Regions from separate parts of the Homo sapiens genome. Here region 2 is linked to region 1. The links are contacts of gene promoters, found by promoter capture Hi-C in human tissues and cell types (Jung and others, 2019). All regions are on one chromosome and are shown on one strand. Each heading gives the region's core, a stretch centred on a gene start or on the middle of the fragment in contact. The rest is flanking DNA. Distances are from core to core; before and after follow the strand shown. Region 1 holds the start of ABHD3 (abhydrolase domain containing 3, phospholipase). Region 2 overlaps MIB1 (MIB E3 ubiquitin protein ligase 1).

Region 1 (3,472 bases), core at 899-3,398:
GTACTGCCCCGTCAGCCCCACACTCCTCAGCCCTTGGGCGGTGGATGGAACCCGGCTTGGCAGAGCAGGGGGCAGCGCTCGTGGGGGAGGCTTGCCCCGCAGGAGCCCACAGTGGGGCGGGGGGTGCGGCTCAGGCATGGCGGGCTGCAGGTCCTGAGCCCTGCCCCGTGGGGAGGCAGCTGAGGCCCAGCAAGAATTCCAGTGCAGCGCTGGCGGGCTGGCACTGCTGGTGGACCCGGGGCACCCTCCACAGCTGCTGGTCTGGGTGCTAAGCCCCTCACTGGCCAGGGCCGGCGGTGCCAGCCGGCGCTCAGAGTGCAGGGCCCGCCGAGCCCACACCCACCCGGAACTCCCGCTGGCCCGTGATCGCGGGGCACAGCAGCCCCGGTTCCCGCCCACGCCTCTCTCTCCACACCTCCCTGCAAGCAGAGGGAGCTGGCTCCGGCCTCAGCCAGCCCAGAGAGGGGCTCCCACAGTGCAGCAGCGGGCTGAAGGGCTCCTCAAACGCGGCCAGAGTGGATGCCCTGGCCTGAGGAGGTGCTGAGAGCGAGCGAGGGCTGCTAGCACGTTGTCACCTCTCACCAGCACTTTGGGAGGCCGAGGCGAGTGGATCAGGAGTTCCAGACCAGCCTGGTCAACATGGTGAAACCCTGTCTCTACTGAAAATACAAGATTAGCTGGGTGTGGTTGTGCATGCCTGTAATCCCAGGTACTCGGGAGGCTGAGGCAGGAGAATCACGTGAACCCGGGAGGTGGAGGTTGCAGTGACCCGAGATCTCGCCATTGCACTCCAGCCTGGGCAACAAGAGCAAAACTCTGTCTCAAAAAACAAAACAAAACAAAACAGAACAAACTTAAACTGAAATACGCATGCATTTATTGGTAGGTAGTGCAGAAGGCTGGTGCAGGGGTTATGAAGAATGCTATGAAGTTTCAAGTATGGCAACCAGCATATGCATTCACGTTTGCTATGTGTGCTCAGGTGTGAGAGCCAGAGCGTGAAAATTACTTCTGCTCACGGGGAGTCCAGTATATACACTATCTTGTCCTCTCGGGAACTCTATAAAGTAGAAATTGTTACGCTACAGATTATTAAAACAAGAAAAAAACAGGCTCAGTAAAGGTAATTGAATTATTTTGGGTGCTGCAGCCAACCACCAAGTTGCAATGACCAAATCGGAGCCAAATAAATTGCTCACTTCTGGTCCGTCTCATGTCCCCATCTAAATTACATCATTAATTTACAATCCTTTGGCATTTTTCATAATCTAGACAGCACTTTCCCTTCTTTCGTCTGTTTAAGTCTTGCCATTCTTCCTACCTCTCTGAGGAAGGAGTTCATAAGAGTAGGAATAGGCTATTAAATTCTAACCATTTCAGATAACCATAAGTATCCTGATTTATCATATTGCCATAAATAAGCCTAGGAGACCCTACTTCATAAATGGTTTCTTGTCTGTACATTAGGTAATCGGTGTGAATTTCCATAAGTCTCTAAATTCAAAGCATTAATGAACCACAAATAGGCTTTTAACAATTGAATCCCGGTTGCTATTCTTGACCTTTTCATTTATTTTCAGAGACCACTTCTCATTTAAGTGACACTTAGCAACTAAAAAGATTCACAGAGTGATTCAGAGTCGAGTATGATGTCCTCACTGTTGAATGCTCATAGAATATTTTTTCTCTTTCCATAGTCTTGAGGACCAACGCAAACGTCTAGAGGATGTGGGATTCTTACCTGCTAACATATCTTTGGCATTAACTCCCCAAATCTTTGAATGCAAGGCACGCTTACCTGACACCCTAAACTGCTAGTTTAGGGACACCCGCCGCAGAGCGGAATCGTTCAAGGTCACTGGGGCTGCAGGTGCGGGGCCTTAACCAGCGCTGCCGATCCGTCAGCTCTCGGCCCACCCTTGGGGATCCCCATCGCCCACTGCGACCTAGCTGGGAGAACCCAGTCCGCCCGCCCTCCCGGTGGCCGGTCTTGGAACCGCGCTTCTGGAAGGTTCCTGAGTGGCTGGCAGTGGGGGCGGCTCCAGGAAGCCGGGGCGGAGCGGGCGGCGTTGGAGTCTCGGGCTACGCCTCCCTGGGCCGCTCCGCCCCGCCCGTTGTCGGAAGCCGCGCTCCGCCAGGCAGGAGACACTGTGGTCGGGAGTAGGCAGCGGCGCCGCGTCCGCTCTCGCCCGCTCTCGCCCGCTCGCCAGCCGGCTCTCCTCCCGCCGCAGGACCCGCGCGCCGCGCTCGGGGGCCATGCAGCGCCTGGCCATGGACCTGCGGATGTTGTCCCGGGAGCTCTCCCTCTACCTGGAACACCAAGTCCGGGTGGGGTTCTTCGGCTCGGGGGTGGGCTTATCCCTTATCCTGGGCTTCAGCGTCGCTTATGCCTTCTACTACCTGAGCAGCATTGCCAAGGTGAGCCGGGGGTGGCGCAGGGCCGCGGGCTGCTGGGCCAGGAGCTAGGGTAGCAGGCGCGGCGCGAGGCTGCGCGGCCAGGGGCGGTCGGCAGCCCCGGGGATAGGCGGCGAGCTGCTCCCGAGCGGCAGCCCCCAGCGCGCGCGGGAAAGCCAACAGGCCCCGCCCGTTCGCCCGCCCCCTGGGGGTCCCGGCCGGGTGGTCCTCGGAGCGCAGCCTGAACCCGGCTGACTTCTGCGCTGCGGCGCTGCCCGGTCACCGATCGCGAAGCCGGCGGCGCACTCGGGAACGCCGTGGCGCTTTTGAAAATGACTCCGGGCAGGGCACGGTGGCTCACGCCTGTAATCTCAGCACTTTGGGAGCCCGAGGCGGGTGGATCACCTGAGGTCAAGAGTTCGAGACCAGCCTGACCAAAATGGTGAAACCCCGTTACAATTACAAAAAATTAGCCGGGCGTGGTGGCGGACGCCTGCAATCCCAGCTACTCGGGAGGCTGAGGCAGGAGAATCCCCTGAACCCGGGAGGCGGAGTTAAAAACAAACAAACTCCCTTATCGCGATTCTCGCCTTCCCCTCGGGGCATTGGCGAAACCCCCGTTTCAGTCCTCTGTGACTGTGAATTTTTTGCGTCAGCCCTCCAGAAAGAGTTGTAATCGGAGGAAGCGCGCGCGCGAGCGACAAGTCTTTGCCGGTTTCTGGTTTACGGTTGGCAGAAACTTTGCTCTGGGCCCTTCTCTGATACTGCTTTTCCCTTCAGAAACCCCAGTTAGTGACCGGGGGTGAGAGTTTCAGCCGCTTCCTTCAAGACCACTGTCCCGTGGTTACAGAAACGTACTACCCGACGGTCTGGTGCTGGGAGGGTCGAGGACAGACCCTGCTTAGACCTTTCATCACTTCGAAGCCCCCGGTGCAGTACAGGAAGTAAGTGAATTTCCGTTTTCAGTCATTTCTGCAAAATCACAGGTTGTTTGTTTGCTTGCTTGCTTATTCCCAGTTCTTGGTTAATAGAATCTGCTTTAGGAAGTATATAGAACAGAAAGAGGGAATGAAAATGG
Region 2 (3,252 bases), core at 224-2,723, 62 kb before region 1:
TCTGGTTACTACCATAATAGCATGATACAGGAATACCTTTTATATTCCACAGGTGATGATGATGATGGCAGTAGTAGCTGTAATAATAATCACAGCTAACTTTTACTAAGCTTTTATTATATAATATGTAAAAGCACTTGCATAGGAGTAAAGTGTGTTACACTCCTTAAGAGAAAGTTACCGCTATATTATCCACTTTATAAATGAGGAAACTGAGTCTCAAAGAAGTAATGTGCCCAAGGCCACAAAAGTTAAAATGTAATGGACTCCACATATGATCCTAGTCTAAGCATTTCAGGGTATCTGGGTATCACTATACTCTTCACTATTGTAGAGATGGCAAACTCAAATCGCTATAGCTTCTAGGTGAGTAATGACAGCCCAAGAAAGACAGCACTACAATGGCAAATGGCACTTGACCTCAGACTTGGGAAGATAACAGGAAATGGCAGGGACTTTGGTTGACTCAAAAGCATCATCAGTCTAAAAGGTCCAGTCTAAAGGGCTCCATTGCTTCAACAAACTGTTGCCAAGAACAAACGTAAGCCCAGTACTGATAGTCTTCTGTATTGGCGGGGGCAGTGGGGGGAGCAGGGTGTTCTATGAATCCATCAACAGATTTTTGTGTGAAATCACCTGTTTTTAAAAACTAGCCATTATTCCAGCCAGGCATGGTGGCTCACACCTGTAATCCCAGCACTTTGGGAGGCCAAGGCAGGTGGATCACGAGGTCAGGAGATCGAGACCATCCTGACTAACACGGTGAAACCCTGTCTCTACTAAAAATACAAAAAATTAGCTGGGTGTGGTGGCGGGCGCCTGTAGTCCCAGCTACTCGGGAGGCTGAGGCAGGAGAATGGCGTGAACCTGGGAGGCGGAGGTTACAGTGAGCCAACATTGTGCCACTGCACTCCAGCCTGGGCAACAGAGAGAGACTCCATTTCAAAAAACAAAAAAAAAATAGCCATTATTCAAAAATTTAAGAGTACTGTATTGATATGATTTGGTTGTGTCCCCGCCCAAATCTCATCTTGAACTGTAGTTTCCATAATTCCCACACGTCGAGGGAGGGACCCAGTGGGAGGTAACTTAATCATGGGGGCGGTTACCTCCATGCTGTTCTCTTGATAGTGAGTTCTCACGAGACCTGATGATTTTAATAAGGGGCTTTCCCCCTTTTTTGCTCAGCACTTCTCCTTGCTGCTGCCATGTGAAGAAGGAAGGGCGTGTTTGCTTCCCCTTCCACCATGATTATAAGTTTCCTGAGGCCTCCCCAGCAATGCTGAACTGTAAGTCAATTAAACCTCTTTCCTTTATAAATTACCCAGTCTCGGGTATTTCTTCATAGCAGTATGAAAAGGGATTAATATATGTATGTATCGGTAAAATACATCTGTGGTCTGGATTTTACCTACACTAACCTGTTCTCACAGTACTACATACTTACAGAAGATTATGAACCTTGATAAAGATTCTACACTCAAGTATCTGGTCCAGCTTGGTTCTCCAAGACCATGTATCCCTATTGTTCTACATCTTTCTCATTCACATAATCAGAAAGGTTTGGAGATTTTTGTTTTGTTTTCCTAATTTTATTTTATTGTTCTATTCTTTTCATTTATTTACTTATTTTAATAGAGATGAGGTCTTACTATGCTGTCCGGGGTGGTCTTGAACGCCTGGCCTCAAGTAATCCTCCCACCTCAGGCTTCCCAAAGTGCTAGAATTAAAGGCATGAGCCACCCGCCCAGCCTTATTCATTTTTACAGTGTCTTTATTATTCCTTAATTTTAATTGCAAACAAAAGACAAAAATAACCAACTTGTTCAAAATTACTCAGTTAATAAGTGGCACGATTATGATCTACACCAAGAGAGGTATGACTCCAAAATCTATTTATCTACTCCTACTCCTAGCTGCCTCCCTATGACTGGCTGGATTCTCGCTCCTTTGCAGTATCTGTATCTACATGAGAAGATCCCATTACCTAAAACTCCGCCCCCATTAACAATGAATACTCCTCTCTCCTTGCTCCTAAGACACTTAATACATATCTCTAACACAGTCTAAAACATCACATGATAATCACTGACTCATTATTTCCTTTAATTTGTAAACTCCTTAAGAATACTATGTGTCTTATTTATCTTCTAGTGTCCATAAACATAGTAGATGTTGTATAGTCCTAATAAATGCCTACTGACTCAATCAATGAGCCCTACCATTCATCTGATATCAATTAACAGACTAGAAGGCATAGTGAGAAGAAAACAATTGGTATCTTTTTGGATACCCTTGTATTTCCAAATGTAGAGTAGTGCTAACCCTCTAAGCCAGAGAAAGAATAGCCCAGATTACCTTGGAAAAGTACAGACAGCTCCATCTTCAAAGAGCTCTTCTCTTGTTATATGGCAGATTTGGTCCACTTCTATCCTACTATTGGGTACCTCCTGTTAGTAAACCAACTGTCAGAAGCTATTTGCTAATCCTATTTTTAAGGCCCAGAAGTACATAACTTGAATACAAACAAAAACCCTCGGTTGAAGAAGAAAAGGGTTCTCCCTACCTCTCACTTCCCGGTGTAGTAATTCGGTAAAAGCGATGTCTTAAATGATGTTTATCTCCATGATAACACACTGTGCACAAATCATAATTTGTACACTCTGCACACTTCCATCGAATGCCAATGATTGGTTGCTGGCGGCAGGTATCACACATGGTTCCATCATGCTTGATGCCTATTAAAACAAGGACACATGCTCAGATTAATCACAAATTTTATTTATTTGAATATTATTCCTTGGGGGAAAAAAATAAGAACAGAACATTTTACAAGATATTCTAATAAATTAGGAAATAACACTTCAAATTTAACACATATAGCTTCAAGATAATGGATCTCAACTACGTTAATAAATGCGAATTATATATATTTTCCCTCTGCTCCCTTTTTCATTAGTAAGAACACATCTCAGTAACTCTTTCCTCGCTCTCATCCACAAACTAGAACTTAAGTTCAGCACAGAGAAAGAAAGAATCCTTTATCACTAAGGAGATGTTTCAGACTACAAAACCTCAGAAATCTTTGAAAGAATTTTCAACTATTTTCTAGGTAAACAATTACTCCAAAAGAAAAGACCATTTTGCCTTCATGATATCATGGAAACAAACTATCAATTAACCTAAGCATTTACCACCCTTAGATATTGACAAGTTTTTCCCATAGTCAGGAAAAGTTAGAAAATGATTAGG

What was found. Contacts are between HindIII fragments. The study calls those that stand out against the background at their distance.
Region 2: a contact is called between a fragment that was not itself captured here and the fragment with the promoter of ABHD3 in region 1, in 3 of the 25 tissues and cell types used here (lymphoblastoid cells, spleen and stomach).

What each region holds. Positions count from the first base shown.
Region 1 is chr18:21,703,450-21,706,921 of GRCh38, reverse strand. It overlaps ABHD3 (abhydrolase domain containing 3, phospholipase), which reads left to right and starts at 2,148. Exons shown (of 9, transcript NM_138340.5): 1 at 2,148-2,418; 2 at 3,175-3,338. The coding sequence starts at 2,257. It also overlaps a transcript of MIB1 not described here. RefSeq lists enhancers at 1,741-1,810, 3,271-3,420 and a silencer at 1,981-2,750. The HindIII fragment of the contact is 17,143 bases long and covers 1-3,472 here.
Region 2 is chr18:21,765,258-21,768,509 of GRCh38, reverse strand. MIB1 (MIB E3 ubiquitin protein ligase 1) reads right to left here. Exons shown (of 21, transcript NM_020774.4): 2 at 2,567-2,738. Among named protein-coding and RNA genes, the nearest start is that of MIB1, 26 kb to the right of the region's middle. The HindIII fragment of the contact is 7,506 bases long and covers 1-3,252 here.